Regions from separate parts of the Homo sapiens genome. Here region 2 is linked to region 1. The links are contacts of gene promoters, found by promoter capture Hi-C in blood cells and fetal thymus (Javierre and others, 2016). All regions are on one chromosome and are shown on one strand. The core of a region is centred on a gene start or on the middle of the fragment in contact, and the rest is flanking DNA. Distances in the headings are between cores, read along the strand shown.

Region 1 (3,442 bases), core at 120-2,619:
TGGCAAATTTTCACTAAGTGCCCTTCCTCCCCAAACACACGTATATGTCTACCAGACCCTAAAGCCCTTTATGAACATGCAAACTCCTCCCTTCTGAAAACCTTTGCGTGAGTGGTCAGCAGGCTAATTCATCCATTGCAATGTGGCTTTGTGTTAGGGTTCTGTTTCCGTGCTGCCTGCAAGATAATCACAGATGTGACTGCATCTTAGAAGTTCCTGAATCTTTCAAGACAGTCTGGTTCACAAGAAAATTAAAAGGTGGAGGTCGGGCGCGGTGGCTCACGCCTGCAATCCCAGCACTTTGGGAGGCCGAGGCGGGCGGATCACCTGAGGTTGGGAGTTCGAAACCAGCCTGACCAACATGGGGAAACCCCGTCTCTGCTAAAAATACAAAATTAGCCAGGCGTGGTGGTGCATGCCTGTAATCCCAGCTACTCGGGAGGCTGAGGCAGGAGAATCGCTTGAACCCGGGAGGCAGAGGTTGCGATGAGCCGAGATCGTGCCATTGCACTCCAGCCTGGGCAACAAGAGCGAAACTCTGCCACACACACACAAACACACACACACACACACACACGGTGTAGTTTAGGAAGTAAAAAAAAAAAAAAAAAAAAAATCAGATCTCCCCTCACACCTCAGATCTGAAGGCACAAACTCTAGGGCCAGGGCGTTCGCCTACCCAACTCCACATGCACTTGCAGGTCACCTAGCACTCAGGTACCTAGCACTCAGGTACATTGTGGCTCCTTACCTCTCACGACAGCAGCAACAACGTTGATTGGAAGTTTATCACTGTGTGTTACGGGCCATGGGCCATGTGTGTTAGAATTTTATGTGAAATTAACATTTAATTCTCACGGACACCCCTGAAACAGATGCCACAGCCCCCATTTTGCCAACGAGGCAGCTGAGGTTCCCAGAGGCTCAATACCAGCACCATGAGCCGCAGCACGCAAGGCAAACACAGCCGGAGGTGAGCACATACCTGCTTCGCACCCCATGCGCCTAACCACAAGGTTCCCTCCCTCCAGGAAGGCCGTTGTCTTCCCTGGGACGACTTGCCAGCTCTGAGGCATGACAGTACGGGCCCCCAGAAGGGTGACCAGGAGGCCCTCCTCGTCCCAGCTGCCGGCGTCGCCGCCCACTGCAGGGCCCGGGCTGTGACTCGTGGGGACGGTTCCCTGCGCCCCGGCGGGGGAGGTGGGCGGGGAGGGGCGGCGGGGCGCCGGGGCGGGGCTCGGGACGGCCGGGCTGGGAGCTGGAGCCCACAGCGGGAAGCGGCCGCCGCCCGGGCCTCGCAGGGCTAGGCGAGGCGAGGGGGGGCGGGGCCGGGCGCTACGGGAAGGGGAGGCCGCGCGGACCGGGAGCCGCACCGCGCCAGCCGGGCTGCAGCGGCCGCGCACCAAGGCTGCGATGGGGCTGGAGACGGAGAAGGCGGACGTACAGCTCTTCATGGACGACGACTCCTACAGCCACCACAGCGGCCTCGAGTACGCCGACCCCGAGAAGTTCGCGGACTCGGACCAGGACCGGGATCCCCACCGGCTCAACTCGCATCTCAAGGTGAAGCCCGGGGCGGGCGGGCCCAAGTCCCCGCTGAGGCCGGGAGGTGCGGGCGCCCCTCAGCCCCGCCCTAACCCGTCCCACCATTGCTACCGGGTCGGCCCCGCAGGGTCTGAGACCCGCACCCTTCCCCGGTCCCACCCGTCACCAGGCCGCCCGCGTAGCCAGGAATTCTTAGCCAGGTTCCTGTGCGCCCACCGTGACCCTAAGAGAAGAGGCGGACGCCCTGGCACGTCCTTCCCTCCTGCTTCCCCCGCCCAAAGCGCTCCCGGTTCCCGGGGCGTCAGGTTGGCTGACAGTTCGGGGTCCCTGCGTCCTGTCTCCTCAGCTGGGCTTCGAGGATGTGATCGCAGAGCCGGTGACTACGCACTCCTTTGACAAAGTGTGGATCTGCAGCCATGCCCTCTTTGAAATCAGCAAATACGTAATGTACAAGTTCCTGACGGTGTTCCTGGCCATTCCCCTGGCCTTCATTGCGGGAATTCTCTTTGCCACCCTCAGCTGTCTGCACATCTGGTGAGACGGGGCACACCGGGTGGACCGGCTTTCTGAAACATGGGCATATTCTCCGCCACCTGCCCCCTACTCTCCTCTTATCCCAGGCCGGCGTCAGGAGGAGGAACGCGCATCAGTTCCCAAGCAGTAGGAAGAACTGGAAGGCCTTGAAAGGCAATGCGCTTCCTTTAGAATAACAGTTTGGGCTTGGAGTTTCAACAGGAGAAAGAATGTCGGTCTTTCCTGGGGTGTGATTTTCCTTGCATACATAAGGCTGGGCTGAGTGTGGAGGCGGGTACCTGGAAGCCACACTTCTTACCACAGGCTGCTCTCGGGGCCCTGTTGTGACTCGTACCTGCGGTTCTGGGCAGGACTCTTCTTTCTTTCATTGCCTTTTATTCAGTCACTGCCTGTGCTTGGGGTAAAACAAAAGTGATCTCTGAGCAGAATGCCGCTGACAGTAGAATTGGATGAGGATGTCAGACCTGGTTAAGCAGTAGTGTGGAGGGGCTGCTTCAACTTTGCCCCTGGCAGATGGCAAGGATGGGACCCAGAGGAAAGGGAGGTGTGTGCAGTTAAGGCGAGGGTCCCCCCCAGTACAAACGAATGAAAACTCCAGCTGCGGGATAATGAATGAGAAGGCCTCCAAATTACTTTTTCACTGATGAAACACAAATGGAAGTGGCATATAATTAAAGGGGAAAGAAATATGGAAGCCCACTGTATATTGATAGGATATTTTGAGTAACTCTATTCATACTCAAAATGTGTCCTAAACTGTAGAGAACTTTCTTAAGCATCTTTTAAATTTTTTATGGAAAATGTCATATTTTACCAATAAATGTTGTTGTGTTAGAAAATATCCACTTTAATCTGAGAGGAAGAATATTCAGATCATCCCCAGTATCACAACAGTTGTCACGCTAGTGCTTCAGGTTAGTCCTGGTGAAAGGTATAACCCAAGGTACCTCCGTGTCTTTCTTACACCTTTTATGATATTGCCACACCCTGATAAATACTCGGTGTTCATTGTTAGAAGTTACCAATTTATCCTTTATTTCTCTATACCACCTGAATCTTAATTTATTTAGTCAGTTAGCTAGCTAGTTAGTTCAACAAACTTTAAATTGATTGAGTGCTTAGTTTGTGCTGGGCACTGGGCCAGGATGAATGAGAGATAGGGTCTGCCTTCAGCTTACTCACAGCCTTATCAGGGCAGCTGGCTAGGTACAGAGATGGACGCTGAGAAAACACAGTCAACTGACAAAGAGGGAGGAACAGACAAGGCTTTGAAGAGTGAAAGGAGTCGAAAAAGACTTTGAAAGGATAAATGAAAATTCACCAAATACGTAAAGGATACACAAAGAACACCAATTTAATTTTA
Region 2 (3,312 bases), core at 705-3,204, 220 kb before region 1:
CTGACCATGGTGGCACCCCGACCTTAGACTTCCAACCTCCAGAACTGTGAGAAATAATTTCCTATTATTGACAAGCCACCCAGACTATGATATTCTGCTATAATGCCCTGAAGTGTCTAAGCAGTCTTCCCTGTGCATTTCTTATAAATAACTTGTCAGTGGATTTAGAGCCACACAGATAATCCAGGATGATCTCCTCATCTCAAGATCCTTAATTTAATTATATCTGCAAAGTTCCTTTTCCCACGTAAGATAATAGTCACAGATTCTGGTAATTAGGACATGGGCATATTTTGTGAGGGCCACTATTCAACTCACTACAGAGTCCATGAGACTGCCAAGAGAGCTGGTGTCCAAGATGTTCAATAGCTTAAGGTGAGCCTGGTAGGGGAAGGGATGGGGACAGGGAAGGAAGAAGCAGAAAGCTCAGGTGGGTGCTGGGAAAGAGGTAGCTCCAAGTAGTGGCCCCTACATTCTGGCATCACAGATATTGAATATTTCTGTTTTGTCATCCAAGCTGGCTGCATAGTAGCTCCTCTAACACACAGACCTGTCCCCAAATTAAATTGTCATTATTTCAAAATACTTGGCATTAAAAAAAAGTATTGGATTCAAAGATCTATTCTTTTTAGCAAGGGAAATTCTAATTTTACAGTTGTTTTTGAAAAAAAGGCACAAGGTGCTAAATTTTTCAAATACACTTTAACTGTTATGTTAACGGTTTTAATTTTTATAACTTATGCAAAAAAGTGTCTTATCAATGAGGATTGTTAAGACCTTGCAGGAATCATCATTAATAAGACTTGACTAGGAGACTAGGAAGTGTTTAACCATTTCAGGCATGAAAATATGCCAAAGAAAAAAAGGTCAGGAAAGCATACTGAAGTCTCATTTTAAAAACTGCAAAGATTTGACTGTTTCAATATTCAATCTTTTCATTAATATTTGTGTTTATCACAATGATATAGATAAAGTATACATAATATGTTTTTTCAACAGGTCCCATGCAGATGCCTGCAAATCCCTTTTAGTTTACTCCAGTGTGAAAAAGTTAGAACTGTTATATGAAATAAGCATGAAAAATGCTTTTTCTCTTTTCCTCTGATATTAAATTATATATAATATATATAATAGCAGAGGAATATATAACATATATACAATAGCAGAGGAAAAGTGTTTGTGTGTGTTACTACGTATAGCATATATATAAACACAAACATTTTATATATACATAATTTCCATAATATATATTACATATTCAGTGATCAAAATTACTCTTTAGTTAGAAAAGTCAAAGAGGAATATGTGGGAATTGGGGAATGGGAAGAAAGAAGAGAGAAAAGAAAGGAAGTAATTTGGGTTTAAGTAAGGCTGAGAGTGTTAAAAATGAGAAAGTACAAGTGGTTAGAAAAAAAAGGATATTTGCAAAGAAAGTCATGCAGCCAAAAGGGACCCATTATGGAAAGTATTTGGTTTATAGTTTAATGCCTATTCTTCAGTCTACTTATTTGTTAATTTATTTACTCTACTTCGCTCACAAGCTTCCTCTCAAAATTGTACCACTCTCCTCAGGCAGGTGGATAAAGTACGGACAAATAACTAGGAAACAGTCCAAGACTTTATATTGCTTGTCACAGCAGTACCTCTTGTAACAATTTTTTCATGTGTGTATAACAAAAATATGTAGGCCAGTGGTTTCTTCAGACAAAAGTAGTCTTCACATTCCAGAAACTCATGGGGAGGTTGTTGAAAGAACAAGTTGTGCACACAGAAACACACCTGAAGAATCAGCCATTCCCTGGACTGGAACTTTAGCTCTGTTTTGAAATAGCTGAGGTGATGTTGACCTCCCTGGAAAAGACTTAGTCAACCCCAACAAGGTCATTCACCTTGGGAGCACAGGTCAGAGTAGATTTGGCCAATCAGTTCATGGCCATATTCGTATTCAATGTTGTTGGTTCCTCAGGGGATGGGACTTGGGTTTCAACACCCAAGGAAACAGCAAGTGAAGACATCAATTTAAGAAGAAGAGGAAAAAAATATGACTACTAGGACAAATTAAAGACTTGGTTGTGCACAAACAGAATGCCAGGGGTTAGCATAACATGGGGTGGTGAAAGTTGACCAGAGGTGGAGGCCAGAGCCCTGGACACTAGTTTGCACCTACTGCAAGTCACTTTTCATGTCAGATCCTCATTTTTCTCATCTGTAAAGAGAAAATATTTTATGAAACGATTTATGAGGTTTCCTCTCATCTAATTCTACAAATGCTCTGTGAATAGCTTCTGACTGGCTAAAAAGTCTCACTCCGTATAACTTAAGAGAGTGTGACTTTGTTGTGGTATGTCCTTGATCCTGGAGCATTCAGGAAGCTTGAAATATTTTCTCTATGACCCTTCACTCTTTCAGTGATGAAACTTGCCACAACTTGCCACAACACAAACTTGCCATGTGTATAGTATATATACACATGACCCGATCCCTATTTTTATTACCAGGGATTTGGCTCTAACTTTGCCCAACTCTCAGGTGATACTAAACTCTGGAGATTTCCCTGACCTTCACATTTGCTGTAGAGGACTAAACCCTAGTGCTAGATGGAGTTTGGATGCTCACTTTCATTACCTGATCCTTAAAAATTTAGAGCAAATATTTCTGATTTAAGATAAAATTATTAATATGATGTGTTAACATTTGTTTCTGGGGTGTTATTATAGCAATTAATGAGTCATGTAGGAGCTCCAAAATAGCAATTCAGAAATAGATATTACTGAGTAAGCAGTAAAATAAATATCAAAATTCTAATGATTGCCAGCTTTGAGTAAATCATGCCAGTTTAGGAAACAGAAGTGTCTATGATACTGCTGAACTAACTATATACAGCCCCCCAACAATTAAAGCCATATTAATTTGAAAGCAGTCAGTAAATATAAGAAACTTAGTTATAATATATAATATATGAATATATAATATAATATAACTTAGTATATATAAGAAACAATAGATCAGTAGATCTTCACCATGACTGCATGTTAGACCTATCAAGAGAGTTTTTAAAAATTAGCTTCCTCTGTTCCCTTCCCTACCCAATCAATTAAATTGGGCTCTCTGTGATGCGGCCAAGGTGTTAATATTTGTGCTGAGTTCCCTAGGTACCAATAATTTTTCAACAGACAGGGCTGAGAAACATTGCAGTCTATTATTTTTCTGGGGCATTATATGGCACTTCCATAGAGTAAAATTGAAACAAAGAGGTTTGAGTGCAAAGTATGACTCACCCAACTTCTCTTAGCCTCAATTTCCCCAGCTATA

What was found. Contacts are between HindIII fragments. The CHiCAGO score rates a contact against its expected background, and 5 or more counts as called.
Region 2: a fragment that was not itself captured here is called in contact with the fragment with the promoter of CAV2 in region 1 in 5 of 17 cell types (endothelial precursors, megakaryocytes, total CD8 T cells and 2 more); the score reaches 13.4 in endothelial precursors.

The regions. Positions count from the first base shown.
Region 1 is chr7:116,498,369-116,501,810 of GRCh38, forward strand. It overlaps CAV2 (caveolin 2), which reads left to right and starts at 1,370. Exons shown (of 3, transcript NM_001233.5): 1 at 1,370-1,563; 2 at 1,892-2,079. The coding sequence starts at 1,414. It overlaps CAV2-DT (CAV2 divergent transcript), which reads right to left and starts at 1,148. Exons shown (of 3, transcript NR_188012.1): 1 at 986-1,148. RefSeq lists enhancers at 385-886, 933-1,072 and silencers at 1,253-1,342, 3,127-3,421. The HindIII fragment of the contact is 7,148 bases long and covers 1-3,442 here.
Region 2 is chr7:116,282,201-116,285,512 of GRCh38, forward strand. It overlaps LOC102724434 (a long non-coding RNA gene), which reads right to left. Exons shown (of 4, transcript NR_130922.1): 3 at 2,168-2,206. It overlaps LOC105375463 (a long non-coding RNA gene), which reads left to right and starts at 3,279. Exons shown (of 7, transcript XR_001745336.2): 1 at 3,279-3,312. The HindIII fragment of the contact is 831 bases long and covers 1,540-2,370 here.